Linked DNA regions of Homo sapiens: all the other regions are linked to region 6. Evidence: promoter capture Hi-C in 16 types of primary human blood cells and fetal thymus (Javierre and others, 2016). All regions are on one chromosome and are shown on one strand. Each heading gives the region's core, a stretch centred on a gene start or on the middle of the fragment in contact. The rest is flanking DNA. Distances are from core to core; before and after follow the strand shown.

Evidence for each region. Contacts are between HindIII fragments. The CHiCAGO score rates a contact against its expected background, and 5 or more counts as called.
Region 1: a contact is called between a fragment that was not itself captured here and the fragment with the promoter of CCDC148-AS1 in region 6, in 2 of 17 cell types (M2 macrophages and M1 macrophages). The highest score is 6.1, in M2 macrophages.
Region 2: a contact is called between a fragment that was not itself captured here and the fragment with the promoter of CCDC148-AS1 in region 6, in 1 of 17 cell types (megakaryocytes). The highest score is 6.0, in megakaryocytes.
Region 3: a contact is called between a fragment that was not itself captured here and the fragment with the promoter of CCDC148-AS1 in region 6, in 3 of 17 cell types (endothelial precursors, M1 macrophages and megakaryocytes). The highest score is 7.6, in endothelial precursors.
Region 4: a contact is called between a fragment that was not itself captured here and the fragment with the promoter of CCDC148-AS1 in region 6, in 1 of 17 cell types (megakaryocytes). The highest score is 5.5, in megakaryocytes.
Region 5: a fragment that was not itself captured here is called in contact with the fragment with the promoter of CCDC148-AS1 in region 6 in 2 of 17 cell types (endothelial precursors and M2 macrophages); the score reaches 6.6 in endothelial precursors.

What each region holds. Positions count from the first base shown.
Region 1 is chr2:158,625,853-158,629,888 of GRCh38, reverse strand. All of the region lies in intron 7 of PKP4 (plakophilin 4), which reads right to left. Among named protein-coding and RNA genes, the nearest start is that of PKP4-AS1, 110 kb to the left of the region's middle. The HindIII fragment of the contact is 2,744 bases long and covers 297-3,040 here.
Region 2 is chr2:158,459,592-158,463,349 of GRCh38, reverse strand. The region is part of intron 1 of PKP4 (plakophilin 4); the gene reads right to left. Among named protein-coding and RNA genes, the nearest start is that of PKP4, 4.5 kb to the right of the region's middle. The HindIII fragment of the contact is 1,411 bases long and covers 945-2,355 here.
Region 3 is chr2:158,646,341-158,650,607 of GRCh38, reverse strand. All of the region lies in intron 11 of PKP4 (plakophilin 4), which reads right to left. Among named protein-coding and RNA genes, the nearest start is that of PKP4-AS1, 87 kb to the left of the region's middle. The HindIII fragment of the contact is 3,003 bases long and covers 1,088-4,090 here.
Region 4 is chr2:158,476,648-158,480,738 of GRCh38, reverse strand. All of the region lies in intron 1 of PKP4 (plakophilin 4), which reads right to left. Among named protein-coding and RNA genes, the nearest start is that of PKP4, 22 kb to the right of the region's middle. The HindIII fragment of the contact is 1,478 bases long and covers 1,143-2,620 here.
Region 5 is chr2:158,608,749-158,612,923 of GRCh38, reverse strand. All of the region lies in intron 4 of PKP4 (plakophilin 4), which reads right to left. Among named protein-coding and RNA genes, the nearest start is that of PKP4-AS1, 120 kb to the left of the region's middle. The HindIII fragment of the contact is 3,013 bases long and covers 359-3,371 here.
Region 6 is chr2:158,164,463-158,168,592 of GRCh38, reverse strand. CCDC148-AS1 (CCDC148 antisense RNA 1) reads right to left here and starts at 1,943. Exons shown (of 5, transcript NR_038850.1): 1 at 1,870-1,943. The HindIII fragment of the contact is 5,438 bases long and covers 1-2,323 here.

The DNA.
Region 1 (4,036 bases), core at 419-2,918, 460 kb before region 6:
GGTGGCAGGCGCCTGTAATCCCAGCTGAGGCTGGGCAGAGAATTGCTTGAACCTGGGAGGCTGAGGCACAGAACTGCTTCAATCTGGGGGCGGGAGGTTGCAGTGAGCCGAGATCGCGCCACTGCACGCCAGCCTGGGCAACAGAGACAGAGTCTGTCTCAAAAAAAAAAAGATTGCTCCCATCCTGTTAGTTCAGTTAATCAAATCACAACTAAAAGCAAATGGACCTGAATAAGAGTGCTAATTACATGTTGGTTAGTGAGGAGAGGCAAGAAAGTTAACACATGCATAAAGCTTCTAAAGTGAATGATTATTACCTACCCTGGACAGCAATGTGACATGGAAAGAAACTAAACGAATCAATGTGGGTTTTAGCTACTGGCTCCCCTCTTGCTATAACGAAGACCACAGGTTTATACAATCTTATAACTGGGAGATTATCCAGCCAAACCTCATTTCAAAACCGAGGAAACAGAGTCCAAAAGGAAATGTGATTCGCCCCCATTAGAGAGCTACTTCCTTGCCGAGCTGACAGGAAAGCACAGGTCAGTGTTCTGTCATTATACACCCAATACTGGACACAGCTATCCCTCATGGAGCAACGGCACATGGTGAGGAAAAGTCTGAACTCCACAGAGCCCTCCACAAACACCAGGTTAAAGAGGAAGGTAAGCACACCAAGGAGGGGGCCATGGAAACCAACTTTAAAGATGACACTGTGATTGCTATTGCAAAATTCCCTTTTGAGGATTTCAGCTTTTTAGGCACTGGCCAATTTCTCATTATTATTATCATTTTTAGCAGAGTCTAAGCTCTATTTCTTTATGGAGCCCATGAATACCTTAGACAAAAGTGCACAGTTTTTGTTAACAGTGACATAAAGCAGACAGGTGAATGTACCTAGTCCTCGATAATCTTATCATTATGAGGTGCTATTGTAACACCCAACAGAGCCACAGACACTCACGACTCAGTGCAAGACACTGAGGATCATTTACACTTGGACAGAGCCAAGCCGAAGACTGGATGCTTCTGACATCGGTTGAGTCCTCATGTTCCCACTACTGCACAGGGATGTGAAATAAGACAAAGCATTCTGCACCACGATTACAATGTTATATTCTCATTTTACAAGTATCTGGCTGGATTCGTCACTGGAATCCATGCAATCTGAAAGGTTTTGTAAGCACAGACTATGATTTCATGAGAAAGGTAACAAAATGAGCTTTTTGCATTTAGAAATATAAAAAATAACCAGCAGATGTTCACTCGTTATAGGATCATTAGTAAATTGGAATTACTATTATGTGATAGGCTATAATGGGAAATAAAAGACTTAGAACTTTAGTGGGATGTAGCACTTTCTTGATATTAAGAATCCTTCTGAATGACATAATAAATAGTAGTAAACTATTTTTGTTTACCCGCTCGTGTGTTTAAAAACACAAGTACACAGTCCTATAGATTAGCATTTTAAAAAATTACAGTAAATAGCCTCTGTAGATTAAGTAAAATGAATATGTGTAGACAGCTCACTATAATTTACTATTATTGAAACTGGAATTCAAATAATTATGTTCTATAATTGGTATTAGAAATAATTTTTTCAGGGCTGGGTGTGGTGGCTCACACCCGTAATCCCAGCACTTTGGGAGGCTGAGGCGGGCAGATCACGAGGTCAAGAGATCGAGAACATCCTGGCCAACATGGTGAAAACCCGTCTCTACTAAAAATACAAAAATTAGCCGTGCATGGTGGCAGGCGCCTGTAGTCCCAGCTACTCGGGAGGCTGAGGCAGAAGAATCGCTTGAACCCGGGAGGCGGAAGTTGCAGTGAGCCGAGAGCGTGCCACTGTACTCCAGCCTGGTGACAGAGCGAAACTCCGTCTCAAAAAAAAATAAAAAAATAAAAATAAATAAAAATAAATAAAAAATAATTTTTTCAGAAGCATTTCCACTGATTAATTTTTAATAACATTACTTCCCCTTCCAAATAATGGAAAACACTGATACGCCACTGCATTATTTATCCAACCAATACTTTCTATTTGCAATTCCACAAACATATTAGTTTAGCTATTATTACGGTGATTCCATGTGATTAAAAATATTTATATTTATGGCATTAGAAATAAACATAAATTTATCTTTCAAAGATCAATTCTTTATCTCCTCAAAAGTTTTCTTTACATGCCATGATTATTCTGAAATGAACATTTTAGAGTATATATATATATATTTCTGTAGTTTGTATCATTTAAATTATGATCATCAAATACCCAAGTCCCTGAATGTAGTACAAAACATTGCTTATCAATTAGCAGGCTATTAGTCCTTTGAAATCAAGAACACTTTGCTTCTTGAGAACACTGCAGTATTTCTAGAAAAAAATCACTGAGAGGCTGGGCCTAAAAAATAGACATTATATATATTTTCCCCCCAAGACATAAAGTCTAATTTTACCTGCATTGTCAGAGAAACAGACTGTTTAAACCAGAGGAAATGAGTCCTCTTAGGGTTAAATATGGAGACAATAATTTATATGCTGGCTTCCTTCCTCCAGTCTCCTCTCTACTCTCTTACAAGCAGAGATTTCTACATAGCTGTTCTATACACACGGGGGAATATGGAAGTCCTCAGAACTATTTATTTTCTAAGATTTCCTTGGGAGGTAGAATTTCATAAATGATTCCTACATCATTTTGCTGCATACTTTTCAGAGGCATTTCAGAAAATATCTAAGTCAAGCACACTTCTTGGATAGATGAATGAAAAAGAGGTGGTTTCTCCACTAAGAATTTCTTTGAGCTCAAAAATCAAGTTCAATATAAATTCTCCAGGCAAAATTATTCAATCACAAAAATCTCAAAAAGGCTTAAATTTTCTTAGAAGACATAAAAAAGATACTAATTTTACTATGTAAGAATGTTAAACAGTTTTGTAAATTAAAACCAAAATGAAATAAAAAGAAGTGACAAAATGGAAAAAATACTTGAGAAGCATATTACGAGGTGCTAGCTTATCTCTAGTAAAAAAAAGCTTTCACGAATTATAAAAATAGACAAAAGAACTTGTAGTTTCACAAAATGAAATAAAGTCGTTGATGAACAGATTAAATCTTCAACCTCAGTCATAACTCAATAAAAGCCCTTAAAAACAATGAGGTACAGCTTTTTACCTATCAGATTGGCAAAGATGAAAAACTTGGAATATGCAGCACTAGTGCAGTGTAGACAAGGTATAGACAAACAGGCACTCAAACTACTGGCAGAAATATAAATCCGTGTGTAACCTTCTTAGAAGGCAATTCTACGTAATATCTCTCAAAGTAAAAATACACATATATTTTGATGCAGCAATTCTACTGGATCCCAGTTACCCTAGTACTTATGTGAAATATGCAGGGAGAACAATGTATGTACTACATCATCTCTAACAGCTAAACATAACAAACAACCTAACTGTCCATTAGGAGGAAAATGCAAATAAATTATGATATATCTATAAAAAATGGGTCCCATGCATCTATTAAGAATGAGGTAGAGCTCTTAAGACATAGTTAGTGAAAAGAACAAAGTATAGAAGATCTATATGATAGAATTCCATCAATAGAAAACACAATGTGTGTGCAGATTTGCATGGATTGCATATATTTGTAAATGCAAAGAAACATTCTGAAAGCCACATCAACTGTGATGGGACTGGGTGAGGGTAAAAGGCTTTCACTTATTTCAATATTTTCCCATATAGTTTTAATTTTTACCATTCTGTATATGTTACTTTTAAAATATAATTTAAAACACTAAAGTTAAATTGCATTTTATTTAAAATAACCAAATCTTTACACCATGTAGGAAACCCTCCACGAAAAACCCTGAAGTTGGAACAGCTGTATTAGGGACCCGGTGTCTTTCTGCTTTAATAGGAGTGGCATGTAAAAGTGATTCATAAGCGCTTTGTGCATTTACCGTTAAAATGCCAAAATCAAGTAGGGGATAAAATTCATAGTCTAGTCTATATTACCAAAGCATTTCTAA
Region 2 (3,758 bases), core at 401-2,900, 300 kb before region 6:
GCAAATGGTGTTAAATGATGAACACTTTCTAACGCTTTATTCATGTACTGACTAGCAAAGACATTTTATAAAATGACTACTACCTGGGATTACAAACGCAATAATTGTATACATTCTCCTATACTTGTTGGCTAGCGGTGGTTAATGCCTCTCTAAGTATTGCCTACCGCAAGAAGCTACAACTTCCCTACTTAAAAAGGCCCTTAATTACTGTGCTGGATTCTCTTTTCTACAATGTCCTGCAAACTATCAAGCTCACAATGGTTTCTGTTCAGCAGTTTATTTCTTCTCTGAAATATCCTGTTGAAATCCATAATCATTTTGACAAAACCCACACAGAAAGCAAGCCAATAATTTCCCTGGCATTTGGTAAATGCTGCAGAAACCATCATAAAAGCACCACAATGTAAAAATAATTATTTCAATGTATTAAGCGCTGGCTCTGAACCAGCTCCTGTTGTAAGCACTTTACATGTATTAATTCATTTAATCTCCCCAACAACCATATGAAGTGGGTACTTTTATCACTCCATCCTACAGATGAGCAAAACGAGGACCACAGAGATTATACAATCTGCCAGGTTACACAGCCAGCAAGTTGCAGTGCCAGAATTGGACCCTGACAGTAAGGCTGCTAATCATGACACCTCACTACCTTAATGACACTTCATGAGCCTCACTGAGTATGAAGGTGAAATCCCAAGCACTTTCCCTGGCCAAAACTACCATATGTAATCTCAGACTAGGGTAGAGGCAGACAGCAAGACTTTGAAAACATGTGCTTCATCCCTTCCCCTCACTTCCCAAAATGATATTGTTTTAAAACAAAACAATTAAAAATGAATGTGAAGAAGGTTCAAAAGTCTCAAAAGAGAAATTCAACTTCCTTGTTGCCATGATTTGAGGTACAAGGGGAAACAGGGCTGATTATGTATATTCAAGCTTGGAAAAGTTTTTTGTTCTTTTTTTTTTCTTAAGAAAAATTTTTAAAAACCACTGTGAACTTCAGGAATCTTGAGCTAAAATATAACTTAGATCAATATAATCCAAATTGTATTTTTAAAAGGAGGAAGCTATCATCCAAACATTAAATGGTTTGTCAAGGTAATAAGGTTTAATGGCAGATCTCCTAATTTCTGATTTGGGATGCTTTTTACTTCCCTCATGCTTGCAATTCAGACACAGCTTGCAATGGGCCAAAACTTCAGATACCACCTAGCCAGTGTTTCAAAAGTCTATTTGTAAACTGATTGTGGGTTTCTATGAAAAACTGCATTCCAAGTTTCGGGCCAGGCCCCAAAAGCCTGCATAGTACCCTGATAGCCTCACTTCAAATACATATTTTACCTAACCTTCATATACAGTATCATTTTTGTGTCAAACCCCATACCTGTTTTAAATTCAACCTGGAATACAGGACACCAATGTCTACATTTTATGTACATGGTCTCAGGCCATAAGGAGCTTCCTCTGCCTTGCCAAGCTCACAGATGTGGTGATGGCATAGTGTGTGTGTGTTGTGGCAGGGTGGTGGGGGCAGTGTAGGGGCACAGATGAAGGAAGAGCAGTACTAACACCATTAAATATTTGCAACTCACCCAATTTATATTTAGTGGAGAGGAAACTATAGAAGTCAAACATGCCTCAGATGTCAAAGAAAGGTGCTTCCCCTGGCCCCCTCCCTCCCTACCCTATATTGTGAGTTCTGGATTTTGTGAAGACTGTATTATTCTATATCTAGCTACCTGGATTGGCACCCACCCAGTCACCAGGCATTATTCCATTCAGGAAAAATGCTTTGCAATCACATGACTTACAATAACTCAGACACTTCCACATTTTAATTTATATATTTGGTAGTAATAAAATCTCACAATACAATCCCTAACAACATTTTATCAGCTGCAATGAATCATTATATATGAGTCATAATAAACTATAATGTTATCAAGACTATGAATAATAAAATGATCAGTGATATAGCCAACATTTATTGGTATATCAAACAAATCTGAATTATGAAAAGGAAAAACAACAGGTCAATGATGAAGAAAATGTCTGCAACATTCCTAAGTTTAATTGAAGATCACCATCATGTAACATCCCCAATTTAGTAATGGTAACATAGCACACTAAATTAAGATAATTCCACTGAATTATTAAAGTGACAAGGTAAGAAATATTTGAATGTTATGCAACTTCTGAACTGAAACCAGCAAGTACATGAATTACTGTTCTTGGCAACTTAGAGCCTGATTACCTTACCTTGAAATAACCCTGTTATTTCTTATCACTGAGCATCGAACTGACCTGCTGACTGCTATCATCACTTCCATTGATGTAAGAATGAAAGCTTACATCCACGTATCTTAAAAGTTTTCCTTCTTTTCTCTATTTGCAGCTGTCTGTAGTGTTGTCTGGCTGTGAAATAGTTATTTAATTCTCCAAACATACCTAGTCCTCTGGTGTTATGTTTCAGATTCTTCTTCCCCCTTCAGTGCAGGAAGGGCACTACAGAATCATTTCACACATTGAAGGAGTAACTATCTCCCTGTACACTTGAAGGCGTGAAGGCAAACTTCCCAAACTGACATACAATACCATAGGCATTTATGCCCTAAAATAACCCTATAGTAACCTCTATTTTACCTTCCATTTAAGAATGAAGATATGATGTCCATTTTAGAATTAAGCAAGGTAGGGAATTACTGCTCAATTGAAACAGAAAGAAAAACACATTAGATTACAGAGCATTCTCAAAATACCTTAATATTTCAAAAGAGTCAGGTAAGAGACTAGACTTACCTGATGGTTGGCATCATCCAGGGTATGAATATTATTTAAATTGATCCCTGGGTAACAGCATGGAAATTACTAAGGTCAAAAATTGCCAATAATTGCATTTTCAAAAATTAAAGCGAGTTTCAAATTTTTACATTAAATTTACTTTGCCTATTTACAAGAAAAGGAAGAAAACTGCGATTCTAATTTAAACCTAATCCAAATACTCAAGGTCATAGAAATGCTAAAATTTTTATTAAACTGAATTTGGTAGTAGTTTCTTTAAATTCATATCATGTCAGAACTAGTCACAAAATTAGATTTGATTTATTCAGCTTATAAATGCATTACTGCTGCAATAATGTATATAATTTTACTTTCTGGCTGAATACTAGCTGCCCCTAGTTTCTTCTTCCCTTGTTTTCCATCAATACTCTGCTCCCTTATCTCCCTCCAAAAACAATACAGGTAAAAATTAAAATAATTGGATATTTAGCTTTCCCAACTTAGACTCTTCAGTATAATACATAAGACACCAGATGCAGCACCCTCTCCTTACATAATAGTAGGGGGTGGGGAGGGAATGCACTTTGGTCAAAATACAATTTCGGTTATTTTCAATTGTGTAGGATCACTAGTTGAAAAACTTCCACTCTTTGAATATCTGTAACAAATAGAAAGCATTTCTAACTGAAAGGTTACCTTTACCTGAAGCAGGCAAAACTATCTGCACAGCCAATCGTGTGTGTGTGTGTCGTGTGTGTGTGTGTGTGTGTGTGATCCATACATCTGAACAGGGTTTTCAATTTCTAATGCGGCAGGGAAACTAAATTTGCTTTTACTTCCCAATCTTGACATCAAGTCAAAAAAGCACGGGTTAAGCATGGGTTAAACACTGCTGTAATATGATACTGTTACATAATAAAAGTTTCCTGTTGGCATTTACAAACACCTCCCAATATCCTCCACAGTGTTAC
Region 3 (4,267 bases), core at 1,340-3,839, 480 kb before region 6:
GGGGCCCCAGCCTGCATATTCCAGTTGAAGGTGACCATTCCTGCTGCTGAAATTTGTCCCCAGTTGGGACAAGATAGATCTTTAGTGCCTTTAGAGAATATAAGGGTTAGCCCGAGTCTCTGCGATTTTGCAGGCATAAAGGTGGATCACAGCACCTTTGAAAAGATCTACCAACTTTTAGAGATCCATTTACAGAATCATATTTGCATTTTAATGTATTCTTCTTTATTCTAGGTAATTTTACCACTTCTTGGATATGTTTTGAGGATTAATGACATAATGTAGTTATACAGTTCTATGTTCCCTGGAAAGGCATTTCTACAGAAAATAAATAAGCTTACAATTCAGAAATGCTGACTGAGAATTGCCCATATGGGACACACAGAGTGGCTCCTTCTGTTGAAGCAGAGCTAATAAAAGGGAACAGGTCACATGAAAGGAAATTAGAGAATCCTTCTGGGGCAGAAACGGCAGTGGGGGCAGCGGCCCTGGCCACCCTTGTTCTGCAGGTTATTTCAGTGTGACACAGAATTAGGTCATTTATACTGTCACAGTTACACTATCATAGAGATTTGCCCAAGAAACTGTCACTGAAGTCATATACTCCACAGCTGACCTACATGTTCCAGGAACACACTTGCTCATCTGTAACTGCACTAGATCTTCAACCCAGTTGTCTGGTGCTGGCAGAAGCTTAGAGACAAAGGTGCCTCCAGCTGCAAGCTATAGAGCATCATACTCAGAAACTGCAAAGCATTTGCAGGACCTGGCCTGGGGTCTCCATATTCCCACCTTTCTTGCATTTGTAGGACGTCTAGTCAACTGAGGGAGCATGTTATTACAGGGCCTCTCTTTTGCTGAGAAGTTCCACTCTGACTGATGTTTGAATACCCAAGTCTTATAAGTGACCTTCTGAGACTCCCTACTTGACTGCCTCCTTGTGCTTGGCACTCGGAAGCCTACACTCAAAATACAGGGTCATATTCCACTTAGAGGGTTGAATCTTTTCATACTCAAAACTATAAATCTTGAAATAGACGCAAGACCTAAAATCACGTTTCATAGACTTCCTAAGCAAACTGAAGCTTTATGATTATACTTGATCACTAGTTTGATATTATAGTGCTAGTGGTGAAATTCAGGGATATTTCTCTATGGTCCTGGGTAAAATTCAGAGAGTAGTTTATTGTGGGGCTTTTTTTCTTTTCCCTTTTTGGTGGTAATCTTAAAGAACAAGGGAAATAACATTTGTACCCTCCAGATTTAGCTCCTGTTCAGCCCTTCTCAGTGGCCAGGGTAGGCAGGGGAAGGGTCAGGGAAGAAACACCTCCAGCCTGGACATCAGGAACTCAGCCTGGAGACTTGCCTGCTCAACCTTCCTGGACTTCGGTTTCTAATCTGTAATAACAGGGGTAGACAGGAGATTTCTTTAGGGTTCTTTCCAGTTCAAAGTTCTCTACCAATTGAGAATTGGTCTATTCATAATAGACATTTTTTGTCTTCTTAGTAATTAAACTTTTAAAAATTTGTCATTTCTCATTACACATTTTCAGGGTTTGAAATGTTCAGTGAATAAGGGAATGTTTCTGTTGTGATTGTTTCATTTATTTTTTTGAGACAGAGTCTCTGTCGCCCAGGCTGGAGTGCAGTGGCGCGATGTCGACTCGCTGCAACATCCGCCTTTCAGGCTCAAGCGATTTTCCTGCCTCAGACTCTCTAGTAGCTGGATTACAGGCATGTGCCACCACACCTGGCTAATTTTTGTATTTTTAGTAGAGATGGGGTTTCACCATGTTGGCCTGGCTGGTCTTGAACTCCTGACCTCGAGTGATTTGCCTTCCTTGGCCTCCCAAAGTGTGGGGATTACAGGTGTGAGCCACTGCACCCAGCTATGTTTTATAAAGTGGACCAAGTGACATGGATCCTTACTGATTTGGGCTGGGAATTGGGAGGAGATGTTGCTAGATTTCTAAAAATGACCCACATAGCTTCTAACAGCCCTAGTGGCCCATAACAGTAGGACTGACTCCTCTCTGGACCAGAGCATAAATGACCTGTTTTGAAGGCATATTAATTAGGCTAAGGGGACATGCTTCGTAAACTGTTTTCATCCTGTAACGGCAAGTAATCGTCCAAAAGGCATGTCCACTAAGCTCCTGCTTTTTATAGTATATAAGACTAATTCTTGCCAGACTGTTCTGCCCTTTGTTAAACCTTAGCCTGGCCCATCTACCCTTCCTTAGTTACAACTATTATTTTCTTATTAATTTATCATCGAATTAAAAATATGGAGCTAATGATCAGGAAAACAATACACTTCATTTCATGTTCTGCAGTGTCTGGAATCCATTGCTGGCATCCAAACATTTCACAATAAACAGTGGAAATATTTTACTTAGCTATATGGATGAATAATCACTTACTAAATTGGAAGAAATGTACATGTAGCAGTCATATGAACAAAGTCTATTATTACCGAAGAACAAAGGCTACTTTTTGGTATTTAAGAGGGTAATAGAAGTGTGACAGTTGGGGACATCTGGTACGTACATTAAAAAGCAGGCCTCCAGATTTGTGCAATATCTTCAATGTCTATAGTTTTAAAAAATGATGTTTTCAGGAGGCTCAATAACTTGAAACTCATGTTTCCTAGCTTAGAAACACTATTTAATTATTTTGAACAAATGAGTTCAACATATCTTTTTTAGTGACAAGATGTTCCCATCTGTCCTCCATACTTTGTGGCCTAGCAGACATTCATTTTATAACCAAACTGGGGAACAACCATACTTCATCCAGCTTTCAAGTTTAAGTACAACAACAGCAAAAAATACTTTTGGAATAAAAGAAAAATTACCCTAAGCACTCACATATATCAGCACTTACTAAAAGAAAAGCTCATTAGGTTTCAACTGGAAAATGTTCAACACAATGAGGAAAACACAAGAATCATGTTACATACTAGAGAACCATTTTAATTAACAATGACAGCCATATTGTCTTGGGAAAATACATTTGAAGAAAAGTCCTTTTTTCCCTCTGAAAATAAAGATGTGGCCAAAAATATAGGCCCTGGGCAGTTATTGTGTTTAAAGCAAAGGCAAGGCATCTTTATAAAAAACAGCTAAAATTTCTCCACTTAAGTACAGTAAAAACTGCCAAACTGAAACAAAGGGAACTAGAAAAAAAGACTGGATTAATAACTGGGTTGAATTACTTAATATTAAGAATCAAAGAATTCCTAGTTTCAAGGGCATAGTAGTTTCTTCAAATTATATAATATTTGGAACACAATGGTTCACTGTATTTTAACATCTCATGATCCTAAGTTGACTATAATTTTCACTTAGGAATGTGTGGACCGTACCTACAAAGGCCAAGCACCGTGCAAGGCTAGCCATGGTATTTGTGAATGATACTAGCAGAACACTAAAATCTAAGGCTAATGTTCTGTTTTCAAAGGGGACTTTATAGGAGATGGGCACCTGATGGGGAATGCTGGGTGACACGGTCACACAGCACCTTCAGCCTGAGTTCAGAGCAGACGTGCTTTAACGACAGTTCAGACTGGGGGCTTACTTCCTTGGTTAGGAGTGCTGGTGGCTGGATCTAGGGTGGAACTGGTCTTTTTGTAGGGCCATTCCTATGCAAAAATGACCTCCTGAGGGTCTGTATTTTTTGCCTTTTCAAGTTATATCAGATAACTTCTTGCTGCTTTCTGGATAACCTTGTTGTCCAGACTTAACCCCACCAGGTAATGAGCTTCCTGTGCTGTGGGTTCATGCATGTGATGGCGGCTACTTTGTATGGAAACTGTACAGGAGATTCATGCACTGGATGGATGACTGAACAAAATGAGTTCTGAGGTCTCCCCCAACCCTGTGCTACAATTAAAGACGGCTTGAGCATTTGATGTGAGGAAGATTTAATGAAAGAAGAAAGAAGAGTTCAAGCATTTTTTGATGTTTTCATGCTTTAATATGTATCAAGGATCAATCACCCTTAAAATATTACTGAACATCAGTTAAGATTGGTACCACTAAATTGTAGGACTGGGAAATGTGAGCAATTTTGCTGTCTCTATAAAGCTTAGACTATAAATACATGTACACACACAAAAAAAGCAACTATGCTAGATTTATATTGTGACTTGTTTCATGTTAGTTAGACAATGTTTAGGTATAAATCAAACACAGCTGCCATTTGGCTTTTTGAACTGGGAACTCATTTCTGAAGTCTTCTGGTCCAACCTACTTTACTTATGGCA
Region 4 (4,091 bases), core at 632-3,131, 310 kb before region 6:
GAATTTATGGTATGAGAATACATCTCAATTGTAATATGCACTTCAATTCTTAGTTTTAAAATTCTATTAATTTCTTATTTATATAATTTTTCATTAAATATCTCGGGTGTGGTTTTTATTCCTCTTAAAGAAATGCTGGCCATTTTAATAAATCATTTTTCTGTAAGTAGAAACAACTGGAAAAAAAAAAAAGAATCCCAGAGGCCAGGCGCGGTGGCTCACACCTGTAATCCAGCTACTTTGGGAGGCCAAGGTAGGTGAATCACTTGAGGTCAGTAGTTTAAGACCAGCCTGGCGAACATGGTGAAACCTTGTCTCTACTAAAAATACAAAAATTAGCTGGGCGTGGTGGTGGGTGCCTGTAATCCCAGCTACTTGGGAGGCTATGGCAGGAGAATCACTTGAACCCAGGAGGCAGAGGTTGCAGTGAGCCGAGATCGCACTATTGCACTCCAGCCTGGGCTACAAGGTAAGACTCTGTCTCAATAAAATAAAATAAAAATAACTAAATAAATAAATTCCATATAGGAGGCAAATTTTGAGTTGCTAGATACTTAAAATTAAGACAAAAGGAACTATTTAACAGAAATCTTTAAAACCTGTGAGTTGGCACTGACTTATGGGTAGAAAAACACAGGCGTGTACTCCTGACCTAGGGATATGGGACAGATCTGCAATTTGGTGCTCTTTGTAAAGCAGTAGCAGTTCAGAATCAACGTCTAAGAAGATGAATCTCCCCTTTCTGATATCCTCCTCAGCTGACGAAGGATACAAACATTTAAGCCACATGAGCAGCCCCGGTTGTAGCTAGGGCAGAAGCAAAACTGTGGAACCAGTTTATGGGCAAGCCCTAGATTTCAATATTAAGTCAAGTAAACAGAGGAATCATAAATGCTTTAGATACACATTTCCATGTCATGACTTGGAAAAAGGATTGCTTGTCTGGGTCATACAGTAAACCAGAGACTAAAGAATAAATCAAGAGTTATTAATGCTTTTTATTCACCTGCCATCAATGACAGAATATAAAGCTTTTTTTTCCTTAATACAGTTGCTATTAGTTGAACTCCTTTCCAAATTGATAAAGACATCACCATGATTCTCATTTTAAGTACAAAAGTGACAGTCTGCCTATAGAAGCTTAATAAGACTATATTAAGGAAAAATAAAATTAAAAAATGTTAAATTACAAAATAAAAAATTAATTTTAAAAACTGGGCTGGGCAGTGGTTCACGCCTGTAATCCCAGCACTTTGGGAGGCTAAGGCGGGCCGATCGCTTGAGTCCAGGATTTCAAGACCAGCCTGGGCAACATGGCAAAACCCCGTCTCTACAAAACATACAAAAATTAACCGGGCATGGTGGCATATGCCTGTTGTTCCAGCTACTCGAGAGGCTTAGGTGGAAGCATCGCTTAATCCCGGGAGGTGGAGGCTGCAGTGGGCCAAGATTGTGCCACTGCACTCCAACCTGAGGGAGACCCTGTATCAAAAAAAGACAAAAAATAAATAATAATAATAAAATAAATTTAAAAATTAAATGCTGAATTTAAAAGTTAGCTAATGTTTAATATCTAAATTGTTTGAGAATTAAAAAGGTTTAAAAAACAATACTACTTAGGTAACTCCTACTAATGGAAAAATAAAAAGAATAGAAACCTCCTCGAGAATGCTGGCTTGGCAGCCTAGCCTAGAAAGGAATAGAAACAAGTCTCTCCATGGAAGTACTTAGTGGGTGGGATTTACTAATTCCAATACTGGGGAAAATGTGACAGGAAATCATAACTGTAACAAAGATTTTCCACATCTAAAAGCCCATGTTTATGGAGATACAGATATGTAGTAAAAATAAAAACATAATGAAGAGGATAAACACCAACTTCAGAATCCTTAAGCAAACTTGGCAAACAAGATTTTAAAAATATGAATAATAGTTTCATGGGCACTCCATACATTATTCTCTGTACTGTCCCATATTTAAAATGTGCCATACAAACCCTAAGCAAAAAGTTTAATTATCATTAGTGTTCATCAGTTTCATTTACAATAAAAGTTCAAATTATGTTTTTTAACAGTTACCAAAATACTATGTGGATAATTCACATTTTGCTTGTGCTTTATCACAATGAATTAAGGTTTAAGCCATCACTGATAACTTAGGCGATCTATCCAAATATTTAGAAAACTACTTAACAAAAAACGATGAGCTATTGCCAAGGCAGAGAGCGGTGGGCAGACTACAGGCTTGCTGATGATTCCATTTATCTTGATTAGGACAGCACTTAGTACGACTCTTCTAAAACATGTTAATGTCTTTAAACACAAGAATGTAAAAAACACTACTATCGGCATAGTCTAAAGGATTTACTATGAAAATCAAAACCACAGCACGTCATCTGCTTGTGAAAACCCCATTTTACAACATTCTAACTCACTGAATGGGAGAAACAAAACATACAACTTAATACAATTACTTTTAAGGTTCAGAAGTAATTTTTCTGAATGCTTCCCTAATCAAAAAAAAAATCTAAATAATAATGTCTTTAAAATCTGGGATAAAGCTATAAGCTCCTATTCAACAGCCTTACATCTTATAGCTAACATGAGGTTAACATTAAGCTTCAAACCACACCCTTTCAAAACAAAACTGCAAATTTAAGATCTCTAACCTTTGCCAGTCTATTTTAGGACACTGAAAACATTTTTTAGCCAGAACTAGAAATTTCTCTTAGAACATAAGAACTGAGGGAATAAACCTTGTCCCTGGCTTATCAGTTATATATATGAAACATTAGTACAGTCATCAATTTATTTATTGGCATACCTCAGAAGCTGGTCTATAGCTCAGTTAGCATGAGGCTTTGGACTTTTGGTTTTTTTTGAGAGATGAGTGTCTTGCTATGTTACTCAGGCTGCAGTGCAGTAGCTATTCACAGGTAGGATCACAGTGTACTGCAGCCTCGATCTCCTGAGTTCAAGTAATATTCCTGCCTCAGCCTCCCAAGTAGCGTTGATTACAGGCATGTGCCATCATGCCCCAATTTAACCATTTTTTAAACCAGGATATTGTTGCCAGGAAATTGGACTTCAGCCTAATCCCAGTTGATCAATATGACAGCAGAATTTCAGGAAACCTTACTTTAAGACTGATACTTCTTTCTTCTTTACGGGGTCTATCCCCTGATGCTTGACTTCCTGAGGTATCAGGCCATAATTACTAACTCAACGGTACAGGAGCTGATACTTTTGCTTCAGTTAAGTAGTTCATTCATTTTGGCATGGTTTCCTTCTAATTTCTTATTTGTCAAAAGCACACCTCCAGCTGAGTTGGCTAGATCATTTCCTGTTTTTTCAATTAGTAGGGGAGAGGAGAAGCAAAGTCTGATATTTCCGGCTAGATAAGCTGATGGGAAACAAGGTACCTAGCCCAGGCCTTCTGATACAGGTATGCATGTTGACCCTCAGGGACCATGTCTCCAGATCTCAAGCTCTTCCCCTGTAAAAGGAAAGAACTGCATATGGTGATCTCTAACATCTTTCCTTGGTCTAAAAGCTTGCGATTCTACAAGCACTAACCTCAGTGTCATCTTCAAATAAATGTGGTCATATCTGTGGCTTAACTTCAAGGCAGTCATAAACTAGAAGTGGAATTTCATTATTTATAAAAGCAAAAAAAAAATTGTCCAATTTTAAGGGATGAATTAACATTTACAAAGAATTCTATTATACAGGTGTTCACAGAACAAAGAATATAATTCTTTGTAAATGTTTTAAATATTTGTGTTAGAAGAGCATTTAATAGAGTAAGAATATGATGATTATTAATTCCAATTCTTTTAGATATGTACATGCAGAGGCTTAGAAAATAAAAACCTCCTGGAAGCATATAAAACAAAATGACATCAGTGGTCACCTGTGAATGCAGCTAAACTATACTCGGGTTTTACTTTCTTCTTTTGTGCTGCTCTGTATTCAAAGAGTTTTCTGCAAATGCATGGATTTCATTTACAATCAGAAAAAAAAAAAACTATTTTAAAAGTGAGATCGCCTAAACTTGAAACAGCAGGTCTCTAATCTGAGACTATTTTATTT
Region 5 (4,175 bases), core at 616-3,115, 440 kb before region 6:
AAGAAAGCCAAACTGACAGGAAACAGTATGATACTTTTACTATATTCTAAGGTCATGCTGATCTCCAATCTCCATGAGAACGAGTTAATTAGCATGATGGTCCGGGGTATGCTCAAGTTTCCATGGAGTGTTATGATTTAATGAATAGTTAATAATGATATTTAAAAATTATCTTACTTTGTTCAATCTGTTCCTGTTTTATGATATAGAGAAATTTGAAACAAATGTTTTTGTTAAAGCCTAGTAACTTATTAAAATTTTAAATAATCATGAAGATTTACATTCCTGTACTCTGGTAACATAGTAAGTGTAGATAGGACTACCAGGTGCTATCAGTAGGAGCATAAATTGTTAAGCTTTCTGGTGGGCAAACTGACAATATTTGTCAAAATTAAAATGTATACACCCTTGTCCAGGAAGTTTCAGTTACAGAAATCCTATCAGAGACACTCATATATGTGCAGAAAGAATCTTCTCATTGTCTGTCAAAGTACAAAACTGGAAAAAACAAAATGTTCACTGATAAGAAACTGGTTATATAAATTTTCAAACGATGAATACTATTTAGCCATTAAAAAGAAATAGGGCTTTATATACTGATATAGAAACACATCCATTACTTTGTAATGTTAGGGGAAAAACTTAAAAGTCACAGAATAACGTAGAGTGTATCTTCATTTGTGTTAAACCAAAACAAACAACTCAAATGTGTGTGGATACTTAGACATACATACAAACACAGTTAACAGTCTGGGGTGTTTCATTATTCCAGATTTTTTCCTATACATTATGTGTGTGTGTGTGTGTGCAGTTGTGTAGGTGTGTTGGTCATGGTATGGGAACATGTTGGAATGAAGGAAATTTCTACCTTTTACTCAGATTCTTCCAGGCTGTTTTTTTTTTTTTAAAGAAGCATATCTTATTTTCATCTTAAAACAGTAAGTTAAGAAGAGCTTTTATAGTGGCAATCAGGAAGCTATAGCACTGCAGTTGGTAAAAAGGCAGTCAAGACTGTGTGGCTAAATGGGCCTGTAGAAAATAAGGGAGAGAAACTTGTACTCTACAGCTGATTTTAAAAGAAATTCTTATCATCCTTATATTTAGAAGAGAAACAGGAAGAAATATATGATAAAGTTTTGTCATTTGTAAAGTTTATGGCTATAATAAATGACGGCATCCAAAATCCTCAATAATAGTCCTTTATACATGATTGCTGATCTAATATTTTGTTTATGAACATGTACAATACAACACTCACTTCCTACTGTATCTCCTTTATAAATTCAGTACATTTCTACTGAGGCATAAAGTGTTTCAATTTAAGTCAACTTCTTATCTCATGATGTGCTGATGAATTTTTGTGTTGTAAATTACTTGCACCAGATGGAGGAAAAAAGAAAAGATAAATTGACTTAGGACTACTTTCTCATTTGTCATTTATCTTCGGTATTGATGTTTTTTTATTTTTATTTTTTAAAGCTCATCCCAGTGGAAGAAACTTGTATCTATACATTTTAGAAACAAAATTTAAATACATAAACAAAATGCACAGCCTAGCTCCTACAGTCTTAAATTTAGTAGTAAACATTAACTAATGCCAGTATTTCACACAGTAATGATTTAAATGAATAGTATGTTAAAATCATACCACTTCAATACCTGTTATACAATAAATGAATGCAGCACTGTGAAGTTATAGAATCAGTTTTAAACTTCCTATTTTACTATGGTCTTTTTTCTTCCCTTCCATATTTACTGTCAAACATCAAAACTCCTAACTGCACAGAATTGTTACTATTTTCTCTCCTGTTCATCCAAATCTATTAACCCCTCAGTGCCTTCTGAGTCAACCAGAAAATTTCTCTCACTTGTTGTTTTGGTAGAGATTCCAATCTTTTTTGGCCTCTAATTTCTTACCCATGAGCACCAATTCTTTATCACCTACGTAACATCCATCAATTTCTCGAACACTTTCTTTTTCTAGGAACACAGCAGTGTTAAAAAGAATGAGCTTGGCTGGCTGGCTGGTGGGGACAGAGCAGCACATTCCAGCCCTGTAAGACGGACTGCTCCTGGTCTAATGTGCTAGGAAGAGCTGGGGCGGAGGGAGGCTGGATTCTGAGGCCGATTCTCCTCCCCTGCATTTTACACAGATCTACTCAAGTTGGCAACCACCTAAACTCTAGTAATTTTTTTTTCTCGCAAACAGAAAAACTGTGATATTGTGACTTGCAGCAAAATTCACTTCATGGAATGTGACTGGGGGACCTAAGTAACAATCAATGACTGTTTTGACAAAAAAACTTCAATCCATGGCTTCAACCTATAGATTCTTTCTGATGGGTAGCATATACTGTGTGTAGCTATTTTTATTATTGAGTTGGTGTTTTTCTTTAAAAAGAGGTACGTTCAAAGGATTTAAAGAAAAAGATTCTGTATAGCATTTTCGCTCATGAAGAATTATGATTATACATGCTTCTCACTTTCATCACCCTTTACCTATTATTCTAGTATGTATTTTCTGTGATTTTGATGTTTATTTTTTATTGTATTATATACGTTCTTACAAGTTACCTCAAATTTTGATGGCACACAGAGATTGTATATTTCGAGATGTGAAGCAGTGAACAATGGAAAAACTGACACACTAATATTATGGAAACAGAAGGGAGCGCTAACATAACATTCCCTCGGAAATGTTTCAGCAGAATACACAAGGTTATAAGACATGCAAGAAAAGACAAAGCTGAAACATAAATAAACTGCTCCTCATAAAAAAACACAAAAGATGTGCATTTATATTTTTAGAATGCAAATATGTAACACTGGTAAGCTAGAGGGTACAGAATAATGAAGAGAAAGGGCAAAAGTCAAGATAATAATAAAGCATAAATGCTCCAAAACAACTTTATTACTTCTAGGGAAGAAGTTTAAAGACCTGAGAAAATAAAAATGTTTGGCAGAATGGGCAGCTCTTCCTCGTTCTTTGGGAAGTATCTTTCTCAGCTCCCATACTTCAGAAACTTGGGCTTTTTGTTTTCAAATGTCCTACCCTCCTTAACTTCTGCCCCCAGCCCCTCAACAATAAACACACAAACAAGCAAGCTAGAGTCTCCTGAATCTAATGAAATGAGAGTGAAATGAAAATCTCTTCTGCCTAGGGCATCCTAAGCTCTTCCTTAGAAAATGATGCTGCAGTAGGTTAGCTATTTAAAAATCCAATTCAAAGGCTGGTTCCAGTTTACCACATTTCAACAGAATATAACATCCTGAAAACACCTGAGTAAGCAGGGATCGCTCCTAAGCAGTGATCAAACCATTGCATCTCTAACAATCCACCTATTGCTGAAAGGCTTTTAAAGAGCTAAGCTTTTCAAGTCAAATTTGTAAAACTTAAGAAAAAAGGTAGAGAAAGTGTCTGAAAGTAAACATGCAAAGTATAAAAATAAATGAGGATAAATGAGGACCTTCAATCCTAAATCCTTTTGTGAAATTTTGTATAGGAAACCAAAAAACGAATAAAGAGGTTGCTTTTGTCAAGACCCAGCCAAAGACTAAGTGGACTGATGGTCTTTTAAATATTTTTCAAATTTAAGCCACTCCTCATTTATTCTGAGTAGGACTGCCTAATTCTAAGATAGATGATTTTCATATTATCTTCAGTATCTTTGCAGTCAAAGCAGCAAAGAAAAAAAACAATTGTCAAAATTTATAGAAAAAGCAGCAGCAACACTGCTGTTTTATCCCAATTATTAATATATACTCAAAGTTATAAATAGCATCTACAGTTACTAGAAAAGGAAATATGGGCCAGTGCAGTGGCTCATGCCTGTAATCCCAGCACTTTGGGAGGCAGAGTTGGGCGGATCACCTGAGGTTAGGAGTTCGAGACCAGCCTGGCCAATATGTCAAAACCCTGTCTGTAATTTAAAAAAAACAAAAATTAGCTGGGCATGGTGGTGCACGCTTATAATCCCAGCTACTCAGGAGGCAGAGACAGGAGAATCTCTTGAACCCAGGAGGTGGCTGTTGCAGTGAGCCAAAATGGCGCCACCGAACTTCGGCTATGGCAACAGAGCAAGACTCCGTCTCAAAAAAAAAAAAAAAAAAAAAAAGAAAGAAAAGAAAATAAGATTTTACTATTTTATTCATAAATTTTCAATTTGCTACTCTTC
Region 6 (4,130 bases), core at 694-3,193:
AACATTTTTAAAGAGTTGCCAATAGCCATTAAATGTCTCTTTTCATCTTCCAGTTACTGTCACTCATTTGATTTAGCTTTGCCCTCAACTCCTCTGACACTGCTTTTAGCAAGGTCACCAATGAACTGTGTGCTGGCAAATCTGATGACCACTTCTCAATTTTCATCTTATTGACTTCATGACAACATTTGATTCAGTTGACAACTACCCCATCCAGAGCATGCTTTTCTCTTGGCCTCTATGATACCAGCCTGCTTCACCTCTTGCTTCTCTGGTCATTCCTCAATTCCTTTTCTGACTCCTCCATCTCTATCCATCTCCAGATGTTGAAGTGCTCCAGGATTAGACCCTTTAACTCTATCTTTTTAATTGTATTATCCAAGGGGACATCCTTCAATGCTGTACTTTAGTTTTAGCTTTAAATTATGTCTTTTAAGTGTTTTTTAATCTACAGGCTTCCCCCTCCATCCATTTTCCCTGTTTGCATTTTATTTATTGAAGAAACAAAGAAATTTATATGCAGAATTCCCTATGCTGGATTTTGTTGACTTTATCTTTTTGGTGTACTAATAGTTTAATGTATTCCTCTCTCCTTTGTTCTTTGTGTTTGCCATAAATTGGTAGTTGACCCAGAGGCTTTATCAGACATAAGACTCAGGTCGTTCTCTTCTTTTCTTTTTTCCAAGGCTACTTTATTGTGGTGGTGTGTTCCCCCAGCAGGATATGCATGTTATCGGATGGAACTTCTTTTTGCAATTTTTGCTGCCACTAATTCTCAATGCCTAAGTCCATTAATTACTTACAGATTGCATGGTAGAGATATATTCAAATTCAATCACTCTTTCCTTTGTTACTGGAAAAATTACATAAAGAAAAAAATTTTCCTCTTCTGGTATTTGATAGTATAAGAGGAGTAGGCTAAGTGTTTGAGTTTTTTTTTTAACCTAACAGTTTTACAAATAATGAATTTATTCTTTGACATCCTGCAAAGGTGATCAATTTTGTTGTATCTTTATGAAGTTATGAATTTAAATGTATTTGATCATTTACTCTATTAAAGTGTTATCCTTATTGATGCTCCATTTATTCCCCCTTTGCCTAATGGAAACCTTTTCAGTTTGGCTTATGAATTCTATTCAGATAGCCTAATAGACTTGGTAACTTCCTTGCTATTCCAGTTATCTATTGCTATGCAGTAAAACTTAGTGGTTCAAACTTCATTTTTAAAAATTATTTCTCATGTTTCTATGAGTCGACTGGGCTCTACTGGGTAGTTCTCACTTGGGGCCTATATTAATTTCCTATCACTGCTGTAACAAATTACCACAAATTTAATGGTTTAAACAATGTAAATCTATCTTATAGTTTTGGAAGGTCAAAAATCAGAATTTAATCTCATTGGGCTAAAATCACAGTGTTGACAGGGCTGTATTCCTTTCTCAGGGCTCTAGGAGATAATCGGTTTCTTTGCCTTCTCCAGCTTCTAGAAGCTGCCTATAGTCCTTAGCTCATGCTGTCTTTCTTTTATCTTCAAAGCTAGCAGTGGCAGGCCTAATCCTTCTGACATCCCAGCACTCCACACTCCTCTTTTGCCTCCCTCTTCCACTGCTCAGAACTCTTGTGATCACATTAAGCCCACTCTGATAATTCAGAATAATCTCCCTATTTTAAGGTCAGGTGATTAGCGATCAGAATACCCTTTGCCATGTAACATAACATTCACAGATTATGGAGATTAGGAAATTGACATCTTTGGGAGACATTTTCTGCCTACCACGGGGTATATTATAAATTTGTAGTCAATTGCTAGTTGAGGACGTAGTCATCCAAAAGCTCAACTTGGCTGAATGACCAAGAGGACTCACTTACCTGACTGGCAGTTGATGCTGGTTGTTGGCTGGCAGCTCATTTGAGGTTGTCAATGGGACCGACCACCTACACATGACTTCTCAAGATGGCTTGGCTTTTCATAGAATGGTAGCTGGGTTCCAAGATAGAATTTTCCAAGAGCAAACATTCTAAGAGGTATAAAATGCAAGCTGCTAGACCAGTTAAGATCTACTGCTGGAACTGGGATAGGGTCTTTTCCTCCATACTCTTTTCATCAAAGCAGTCATAGAACTCTCCCAGATTAAAAAAGGCTGAGAAAAAGTCCACTTATTGATGGCAAGGTCACATTGGAAAAAAGTATGTGAAATAGGAAATATTTTTGCAGCCACTTTTTGAAATCTGTCATGTTTGTTATCGGGCATAACAAGATGTTTTAAGCTCATTTTGAATATTTCTTGCTCTGACCTGGAACTAACCTTTTCTCTGAGAAGCTTTGGTTCTTTTTATTGGAAAATCGTATTTCAAAACCAAAATTTGGAGACAAAGAATACACATTGCTACTAGGTTGATCTTCTATTCTAGACCTTTTCAATGAGCATGGTTAGAAAATACACACACACACACACACACACACACACACACTCCCATACATATGCATATACATACACATATACATATACATGTACAGACATATATACAAAACAGGCCAAGTGCAGTGGCTCACACCTGTAATCCCAGCACTTTGGGAGGCCAAGGCAGGTGGATCGCTTGAGGCTAGAAGTTCAAGACCAGCATGGCCAACATGGTGAAACCCTGTCTCTACTAAAAATATGAAAATTAATAAGGTGTGGTCGAGAGCGCCTGTAATTCCAGCTATTCAGTAGGCTGAGGCACAAGAATCACTTGAACCCAGGAGGCAGAGGGTGCAGTGAGACGAAATCGTGCCACTGCACTCCAGCCTAGGTGAGAGAACAAGACTCCGCCTCAAAAACAAACAAAAAAAACCCAACAAATCCAGACATACGCTTATATTATCTAAAGATAAAATTTTTTTTTATTTATTCTGTTACTTCAAATTCCATAGGATTTTCACTTGATATCTTGTATGTTACTTTTGTATTTTCTTTTTTCCTTACTGACAATTCTGGTGCCCAATTACACACGGATGTTAGAATATGACATAATTACTCATTTACATTATCCACACAAAAGTCTTAGAATAAAATACCAATATAATAAAAACAAAAATAATAAAATTTGGGGTTATTATGCCTTTTCTATTCTTTTTCTTTTTGTTATCTATATTGCGAGGGACTGTGTAGACATTATACACACTCTCTTTTATCCATGATTGAATCTTATTCTATTAGTAAATATATATTTACCAATACTGCCAGTTTTTAATGTCAATTTCTCTCTTGTCATTTAGGTTGTCTGAAGCCTGTTTTCCAGAAGATTATTTAGGAATTAGTCATGGAAGCAATATTTTCTGGGTCCTTGAATGTTAATAACAGGTTGATGGTCGTCTTTATAGTTGAAAATAAATTTTTCCTGGGTCTAAGATACTTTATTTACATTTTCTTTTCTTAGCATAAAATGTCAAAGGGCTGGCTATAACATGGTTTTCTTTCCCTAAGAATCACTTGATCTTTTTGCCTAATTAGAGTTTTTTTCACTTCCTTTATAATATAGCAGTTTTACTGGACTTTGTGTTTGTCATTCTGGGTTAATATACTTAGTAAATTATATTCCCTTTCACAATATAAATTCAATTTTATTTCAGGAATTTTGTAAAATTATAATTTTTAGTGTTTGTTATGTTTCCTTTTTTCCCCAGGACTGTTATTATGCTATTATGCTATGTTGGATCTTCTTTGTCTGTAGTCTTTATTTGTCACTTTGTTTTGAATTCTTTTAATCTCTTTCTTCATTTTTAAAAACTTTTTTTATTTGGAAATAACTTTATAGAATAGCCGCAAGAATAAAATTGTTGTAACTTTACCCCAGATTCTCCCATTGTTAACATTTTATTCAACTTTTAAATTGCTTTTGTGTTCTTCTTTAATTTGATTCATTTCTACAGCCTTTGTTGTCTTTCAAGACATTGACTTTTTATCGTGATAAATATACATAATATAAAATTTACTATTTTAACCATTTTTAAGCATACAGTTAAGTGGCATTAAGTATTTTCACATTGTTGTGCAACAATCACCCCTATTCATCTTCAGAACTTTTTCATCATCTCAACCTGAAACTCTGAACCCATTAAACAAAAACTATACACCTCCTCCCCTCAG